Regions from separate parts of the Homo sapiens genome. Here all the other regions are linked to region 3. The links are contacts of gene promoters, found by promoter capture Hi-C in blood cells and fetal thymus (Javierre and others, 2016). All regions are on one chromosome and are shown on one strand. The core of a region is centred on a gene start or on the middle of the fragment in contact, and the rest is flanking DNA. Distances in the headings are between cores, read along the strand shown. Region 1 overlaps DENND4A (DENN domain containing 4A). Region 2 overlaps DENND4A (DENN domain containing 4A). Region 3 holds the start of RAB11A (RAB11A, member RAS oncogene family).

Region 1 (2,700 bases), core at 121-2,620, 160 kb after region 3:
TCATGGTTAATACATTATGTTGTCTAGGATTTTCTGTAGGCCACCTGTTGTTTATGTGATGGTAGTCCATGCAGAAGGTGACTGGAATCATTGCTTAAAGATTATGAATTCTGAGAAGTCTCGAAAAAGAAAATTCTATTAAATGTATAATCATTGTTTCTAGGTAGACTATTTTCCTAAAATGTTATTTATCTATTCAAAATCTAGATCCAACAAAAGATCACTTATATATATGAATTAACATTATACTTAAAGATTTTAATGACTACTCAGAAAATCAAAACTGAAAATTAATGCATTAAAACATAATTACTTGTATTTGCTTTGTTATAATTCAAGAGACTTATTAGAGAAAATAAAGTGTCACGAGATTATATATATATATATATATATATTTTTTTTTTTTTTTTTTTTTTTTTGAGATGGAGTTTTTGCTCTTGTTGCCCAGGCTGGAGTGCAATGGCATGATCTTGGCTCACCGCAACCTCCGTCTCCTGGGTTCAAGCAGTTCTCCTGCCTTAGCTTCCCGAGTAGCTGGGATTACAGGCGTGTGCCACCACACCTGGCTAATTTTGTGTTTTTAGTTTCTCCATGTTGGTCAGGTTGGTCTCAAACTCCCGACCTCAGGTGATCCGCCCATCTCGACCTCCCAAAGTGCTGGGATTACAGGCATGAGCCGCCGTGCCCGGCTCAAAATGTATCTTAATAAAGTTCATATGTAGTTAGAGCAGAGGTTAATTGTATCCCTGGTGGTGTTATTAGCCAGAACTCTCTGAAATGTAAATAATTATACAATGCTGTTACTACCTTTCATGTTTTGATACCATAGTAAGTGACTCACAAAAAATCAGTGCTTACTATTCATCTGCATATGTTTTCTGAATATCAGTAACACTTTAAAAAGAATAATTTTTGTGAGGGTTATTCCTTAGTTGAGTAACTTTGAGCTTAAGTTTTTAAGTGAACAAATCCTCTTACCTCTGGCAGTTTAGCTATAGAAAATAAATAACATTAAATATACGTTAACTGTCTCATATGGTTCATGACTACTATTGAACAAAAATTAGACGTGTGATACTGTTATTCACTTATTCTCACATGGTATATTAACTCTTTTGATCTTAGCATATCCAAACAAAACACTTGACCGACTTTAAAAAGCTGGAGCGGGTAATACTGAATAGAAATAAGAAAAACAATATATGAGAATTATGTGAGTTTCATTTATGACTAATTTAAGAACCATGTGTTCTTGTTCTTCATATGATTATATTTTAAATCCTTACAATCTGTTCCTGTGGGATGGTGCTTAACTAAAGGCAGTTTTGTGTAACAAATAGTCTGGTAAGATTTTTTCTTGGTTTCCCAAGAATCCCTTTCCAGTGTTTTCTGAGCATATTAATGTCTTGTGGGAAAATATGAAGAGAATATGAAAATTATTTTAATTTTATCCTGCTGTGGGTGTTGGATTTCTTTTTCTCTCGATAGAGACAGATGTCACCATGCTTTCCAAAAGACAGAGATGTCCAACTGATAAATGTAGGATTTATTGCACGGCTATTTTTATAATGTTAAAATGAGATTTTATTGGTATATAAGTAGAAGGAAGTATCTTTTACCAAGCTATTGAGTCTACAGTGCAAAATTTTAATATTTGTATAGACTTTACCGAAAACTAGAGCAGTTGTCCTGGACCCCACACTTTTCTATGAGAACAATATGGCTAGAGAATGGAAAGTAGGCACCAATATGGAGAGGGAGAAGCTGCTAAAAAAAAGAGTGAGAACTATTAAATAAATAAACATTTGCTGAGCATGGTGGCTCATTCCTGTAATCTCAACATTTTTGGGAGGCTGAGGCAGAAGGATTGCTTTGAGGCCAGGAGTTCCAGACCAGTCTGGGCAACATAGCAAGACCCCATCTCTACCAAAAAAAAAGAAAGAAAGAAAAATTAGCTGGGTGTGGTGGCATGTGCCTGTAGTCCCAGCTACTTGAGAGACTAAGGCAGGAGGATCACTTGAGCCTAGGAGTTTGAGGTTGCAGCAAGCTGTGATTGCATCATGGCATTTTAGCCTGGGCAACAGAGCAAGACCCTGTCTCAAAAAAAACATTAAGAATCATAATATATAGGCTGGGTACTGTGGCTCATGCCTGTAATCCCAGCACTTTGGGAGGCCAAGGCAGGCGGATCACCTAAGGTCAGGAGCTCCTGACCAGCCTGGCCAACATGGTAAAACCCTGTCACTACTAAAAATATAAAAATTAGCTGGGTGTGGTGGCACGCACTTGTAGTCCCAGCTACTTGGGAGGCTTTGGCATGAGAATTGCTTGAACCTGGGAGGCGGTGGTGCTGGTGAGCCAAAATTGCACCATGCACTCCAGCCTAGGTGACAGAGCAAGACTCTGTCTCAAAAAAAAAAAAAAATCATAATATGTATACGATTTAGTAGTCTGATTCTTTTCTCATTTATTGTTATTTTGTAAATGTTTTTCTCATTATTATAATTCTGAATCGTGTCCTAATTTTTGTCTAGTTCACTGTATGGATATACCATTAAAAACATTATTTAATCCAAGAGAGTATAGCATATAATGCTGTGAAATTATAATCAATAATTTATATAAGAAGATTTTTGAATGTATTGGTTCCTTTAAGTGTTAGAAAATTTTTAAAACTCATCTCTGTTCTTTTTTGGTATA
Region 2 (3,001 bases), core at 34-2,533, 140 kb after region 3:
AATTTTCTCAGCTAGGTGTCTTGACTCATACCTGTAATCTCCACACTTTGGGAGGCTGAGGCAGGAGGATCACTTGAGGCCAGAAGAGACCCCATTTATACAAAAAATTTAAAAATTAGAAAAAGAATTTTGTCTTCCTACTTACTATTTTTTCTTTCTTTCTTGAAGTTGCTGAGGTCTGAGCTCTTTTCTTTCTGCTTTGATCACTAATGAGTTAAAGAATCAAAGAAAGATAAGTTGTTTGTGCTCATGAATTCTTGCCATTACCACCCTCCCAAACCGGTGGAGGACTAGACTAGCGAACTGACAGCTTTCTACTTTCCTTCAATTAGAATTTCTGAAGCCCCAGCCTGAAGTTTGAAAGAAAAACAAATCCCAAGTATGGAATTTTTGGTTTCTTTTCCCCTTCCCTGTCTTAAGTATATATGATACAGACTATTTTTAAATATGAAGAAATTTCTGAAGAAAGGGAAAGAAATTAATATGTATGTACCAAGTGTAAAGCTACATGTGTAGCCTAAGTTATCTCATGTTATTCTCCATACTTTGTGAGGTGGTTCTTTTTTTTATTTTTTTTATTTTTATTTTTTGAGACAGAGTCTCACTCTGTTGCCCAGGCTGGAGTGTGGTGGCGTGATCTCAGCTCACTGCAAGCTCCACCTCCCAGGTTCTTGCCATTCTCCTGCCTCAGCCTCCCGAGTAGCTGGGACCACAGGTGCCCGCCACCATACCTGGCTAATTTTTTGAATTTTTTAGTAGAGACGGGGTTTCACCGCATTAGCCAGGATGGTCTCCATCTCCTGACCTCATGATCTGCCCGCCTCGGCCTCCCAAAGTGCTGGGATTACAGGCGTGAGCCACCGCGCCCAGCCGAGGTAGTTCTTATTAACCCTTCTGACAAGGAAACCAAAGCTTAGATTTTTAAGCGATTTATCAAAGGGCATATAGCTTATGTTGTCAGAACTGCATTTTAAAGCCATTACTGTTTGACTCCAAAACTAATGCTTCTACCACTAATTATTGGGTAACTATATAATATGTGTATGTCATAAAATAATGTAGTAATCTTGTAAGTGGAAGTCATCATGAGTAAATATACATTTACTCATAAGATGATCTTTTTTATAAGAAGATGATCATAGACCAAACTCAAGTACTTCAAAAAATTCCCTTACCCAGCCAAGTTTTAGAGGGAAGATATCAAAGGAAAGAGGCAGAAATTATAGCAGTAAGTAACAGTAATTAGATGTGATCAGATGATACCAAGATGTTGTTCATTCATTTACGCCACAAACATATCCCGAGTGCCCTTTTTTTGCTAGGCACTGGGAATAAAATAGCAAACCACATATTCTTCTTTCTCTTAAGACACTCATAATTAAGTCTAGCAAGACAGGCACTATGCAGTGAATGGTAAGACACAGTGGGAAAGCTGTGTTACTGAGTTTCATCAAGAAAATAATTTTAAAAAGTGTTTCTATGTTGCGTTCTTACTATAACACAGGATCCTGTTGGTCACATTGTAAATGTAATCACACCTTCACAGCAGGACATCTGCAGTTTGACTTTGCCCTATCTTTATTTTTATTCTCATTTGTGGAAAGATAGAGGGGACAAATTCCAAGACAGTCATTTTTGTTCAGCTTAAGCTTTCTTATCCCACTCTTTTTTCTTTGTTTACTTTTCAAAGTGATATTTGCCCTTTTTTGTTCTGTAGGAAGTTTAGGGAATATAAAAAGGTTCAGCAAGTTCCACTACACACCTGTGCTATGTTGTTCTGTGGTGGTTAAAATATGAGTGTTTTACTTTTCTTTTCTTTTTCTATACATTTTTCAAGTTTTCTAAAATGAATATTCATTGCTTTTGAAATAAAAAAAAAAAAAAACGATTCAAAAAAAAGTAGAGTCAGCTGGTCACAGTGCCTTTTGCCTGTAATCCTAACACTTTGAGAGGCAGAGGCCAGGAGGATTCCTTAAGATGTGGAGTTCAAGACCAGCCTGGGCAACGAAGCAAGACCTCATCTCTACAAAATAAAAATTAGCAGGCTGTAGGGGTGCGCGCCTGTAGTCTCAGCTGCTTGGGAGGCTGAGGCCTGCTTGGGAGGACCACTTGAGCCTGGGAGTTAAGACTGCAGTGAGCCGTGATCATGCCACTGCACTCCACCCTTGGTGACAGAGTGAGACGTTGTCTCTCTGGTTTTTTTTTTTAAAGTGGAGTCATTAAAGCTATCTTTAAGTCCAAATGCTTTGCAATGCTTTATCACCATGCTCTTTTCTACTCCTACCCCATGTATGGTTTAGAGACCAACTGTGTTGTAATTGCTATAATAAAGGAGATTATAGGAGCCTGTCCCAGAAACAAAGATACAATAGTTCCTCCTTTACCCACAGTCTGGTTTTCCATGGTTTCAGTTATCTGTGGCCAACTATAGTCTGAAAGTACATGAGTACAGTACAATAAGTTATTTTGAGAGAGAGAGCCCACGTTCACATAACGTTTATTAAAGTATATTGTTATAATTCTATTTTATTATAAATTATTGTTATCGATCCCTTACTGTGCCTAATTTATAAATTGAACTTTATCATAGGTATATATGCTTGGGAAAAAACATAGTAAATATGGGGTTCTGAACTGTCTGTGATTTCAGGCATCCACTGGGGGTCTCGGAATGTATCCTCTACAGATAAGGGGGAAACTGCTTTATCATTTTTAACGGATATCCTCTTTTATAGTTATATAAGTATTTCACAATATTATGCTTTATTCAAGTAATTTAGTATAATAGGTTATTTCTTTTTTGAAAGAAACAAAAATGATCCTTACTTATACTCTTAGGAAACTAAGAAACTAAGTATTTAAATATACCGAAGTATTTTGATAAGCTCTGTGGATCATGAATTTACTGAAAGTTTTTGTAGTGCTTTTTCTTACAGTATTTAAGAAAAAAACTTATGGTAGGATTTTTCTATTATTTAGGTGTCTAAGCACACTTAAATGG
Region 3 (2,700 bases), core at 94-2,593:
TCTTTCTAACCAACCCTGACCCTCCAATATGTTCTGTCCAAGGGCACTACATGTTTCCGTATCTTATAATAAATATTTAATGTAACCAAAAGAGCACACAACTTCCTCCCACCCCCAACCTTTTGGGAAAGGTATGTGGCTAACTAGGGCTCTTCCCTTCCTGTTGGATCCTCCCAGCGTTGCAGCAGGAAGCAACCAGTTCATAGAGATAAAGCAAGCTAGTATTTGTGCAGCGCACAACCTTTCCTGCTCAGGAACCAGGCCTTCAGGTCTGGCAAGGATAACAGCCACCACCCATCCGCAACCTCATCTCGCGAACCGAGTAAAGAGTTATCCCGGGTTGGGTGCCACTGAGTAGGGAGGGCAAGAAAAGAAAAGGCTAGGTGGGAAGTAATGTCAGCCTGCCGGGTCACTGCGACAAGTGCGCGAGTGGGTGATGGGCGATCCCTCTTACCCTCCCTCCCACCACCCAGGTCGCAACGGAGACAAGGGAGCTCTAAACACGATTTGGGGAGGGAAGGTAGAGAGAGTTGCCAAATGGGGAGTGGGAGAGGGAGCGGTCAGAGAAGGTTAAGGACCGCGAGAACCGCGGGGCGGAGGGTGGGGGCGGAGGCCCTTGGCCCGCTCAGATTTTACGGGGTCCTGGACCCGGGATGGGAGAAGCTTAGAGGGGCGGCCGTCCAAGTGGAGGGGAGATACAGAAGAGACGCTCGCTCGAGGGGGGAAAGAGGGCAGATAAGAAAAAGACCTGTAATGGGAGTCTGCACCGAAGGCAAGGCCAAGAGGGAAGCGAAGAACCCGTCAGAGGGGCTTCGGGAGAGGACGCGAGCTGGGAAGGGTGTACGCCGAGGGGGAGGGGGCGCTACACCCGAAAAGAGAGATGGTGGGAGGAGCGGCGGGGCCGTAGAACCCGGGGAAAGGAATTCGACGATGTGGGAGAAGGCAGTCCGCCAGGGGAAGGACACGCAGGGAGGGGCTCTGAGGCCAGCGAAGGCCTATGGAGAGGTCGCTCAGAGAGCGGCATGTGATGGGGACCCCTGTCTGAGCGGGGGAGAAGAGGCTGAGCTGGGTAGGAGACGGAACCGCACAAAAAGGAAGGGCTGAGGGAGGCCTATATCAGTGCAGGGGTGGCCGGCACGAGGGTCCACCGGGAGTGGCCCGGGTCCCCGAACGAGGACTGTGTAGAGTGCGAGAGCCCATGGCCTCACCTTTAAAGAGGTAGTCGTACTCGTCGTCGCGGGTGCCCATTGCGCGGCCGAGGAGCGAAAGGGCGGGAGCAGCAGTGGTATCTGTGGGACCAGGGGGCGTCGCTGCAGGGGTAACCCGAGCGCCGAGCTTCAACTGCCGGACTGGGTGAAGAGCCCCTCCCTGCCGCTGCGCCATTTCCGGCAGGCCCCAGCCTTTAAGGGGAAGTACTTCCGGGGGCGGCGCCCCGCCCCTGAGCCCAACAAGGGCGGTGTGCGCGAGAGTCGAGATGCGTGGGGCTTCAAGCTTTAGTCGCTAAAGGAGGCTCAAAGGGGAAACTGAGTCCTGGAACTCCTAGCTACCATAGTCTTAGTGGCCGCTTGCTCATTTCTCGAGCTACCGTGCCGGAAGCGGCTCGCTGGAACCAGGCGGGACCGCCTGTGAGTGGTGGGTTTGTGGATGGGGGCGGGGTTCTCTGAGGATTAGACAGCCGAAGGCAGCTACACATGCGTGGCGGTTCCATGGTGTAATGGTTAGCACTCTGGACTCTGAATCCAGCGATCCGAGTTCAAATCTCGGTGGAACCTGCATTGGTTTTTGTTTTTTTAATCTTGACAACATCTTTAATTCACTTTTTTGGTCACTAAGTAATTGAACAACTATGACACATCTTAAGATGGAGATGTAAAATTTAATCCTTGCCTATGAAGACCTCACAAATTTCCCACTGCATTTCAGGTGCTATCTGCTACCTGGCGGGGGGTTGTCTTAATGAGCTTCTTCACTGCCTTTTTTTTAACCCTGGGCTTTCAAGCCTTGATTCAAAAGCTTCAGTGAAACTTGAAAATTCCTTTTGCTGGAATTTTCTACCTCCAGCTTCATGCACGGGTAGGCGCTTGTCACTCACTCCTCTCCGGAAATCTCGCAATCTATCTCATTTTCATTTAGAGTACTTCGCCCACCCTCCTCATCAAGATTCATCAAGAACTTGAGTCCTATTTGTAGGCCTCTAATCTAAGTCCGTTTACATAAGTATTTCATTTAACATGCCAAGCAAAGGATGGTAATTTCCATTTTAGCGGAAGTTTGGATACTAAGACTCAAGTGATTTGCCAGATATCATGTCGCAGGGCCTCCCTGTATTTGAAGAGAATTTTGTCATTCCAGAAAAGCCTTTATCCAATTATTGTCACACCTCCTACCTCCTATATGCAAACTCTCGATTTAGACTTGTGGGCAAGTATGCCTATAACAAGCAGAATAATGCCCCCTGCCAATGATGTCCACTTCCCAATTCCTGGAGACTGAATAGGTTAGGTTACATGGCAAAGGGGAATTGAGGTTACAGATGAAATTAAGGTTGCTTATCAGCTGACATTAAATTAGGGATATTATCCTGGATTAGTTGGGTGGGCCCAGTGTTGTCATAAGGTCCTTAAAAGTAGAAAATGGGCTGGGCACGGTGGCTCAGGCCTTAATTCCAGCACTTTGGGAGGCCAAGGTGGGTGGATCACC

What was found. Contacts are between HindIII fragments. The CHiCAGO score rates a contact against its expected background, and 5 or more counts as called.
Region 1: a contact is called between a fragment that was not itself captured here and the fragment with the promoter of RAB11A in region 3, in 5 of 17 cell types (total B cells, naive B cells, megakaryocytes and 2 more). The highest score is 11.4, in total B cells.
Region 2: a fragment that was not itself captured here is called in contact with the fragment with the promoter of RAB11A in region 3 in 5 of 17 cell types (megakaryocytes, total CD8 T cells, naive B cells and 2 more); the score reaches 9.4 in megakaryocytes.

What each region holds. Positions count from the first base shown.
Region 1 is chr15:65,707,415-65,710,114 of GRCh38, reverse strand. The region is part of intron 14 of DENND4A (DENN domain containing 4A); the gene reads left to right. Among named protein-coding and RNA genes, the nearest start is that of MIR4511, 11 kb to the left of the region's middle. The HindIII fragment of the contact is 5,576 bases long and covers 1-2,700 here.
Region 2 is chr15:65,723,266-65,726,266 of GRCh38, reverse strand. The region is part of intron 11 of DENND4A (DENN domain containing 4A); the gene reads left to right. Among named protein-coding and RNA genes, the nearest start is that of MIR4511, 5.4 kb to the right of the region's middle. The HindIII fragment of the contact is 737 bases long and covers 915-1,651 here.
Region 3 is chr15:65,868,134-65,870,833 of GRCh38, reverse strand. RAB11A (RAB11A, member RAS oncogene family) reads right to left here and starts at 1,343. Exons shown (of 5, transcript NM_004663.5): 1 at 1,209-1,343. The coding sequence starts at 1,248. TRQ-CTG1-4 (tRNA-Gln (anticodon CTG) 1-4) reads left to right here and starts at 1,701; the gene lies at 1,701-1,772. RefSeq lists an enhancer at 1,470-1,529. The HindIII fragment of the contact is 828 bases long and covers 666-1,493 here.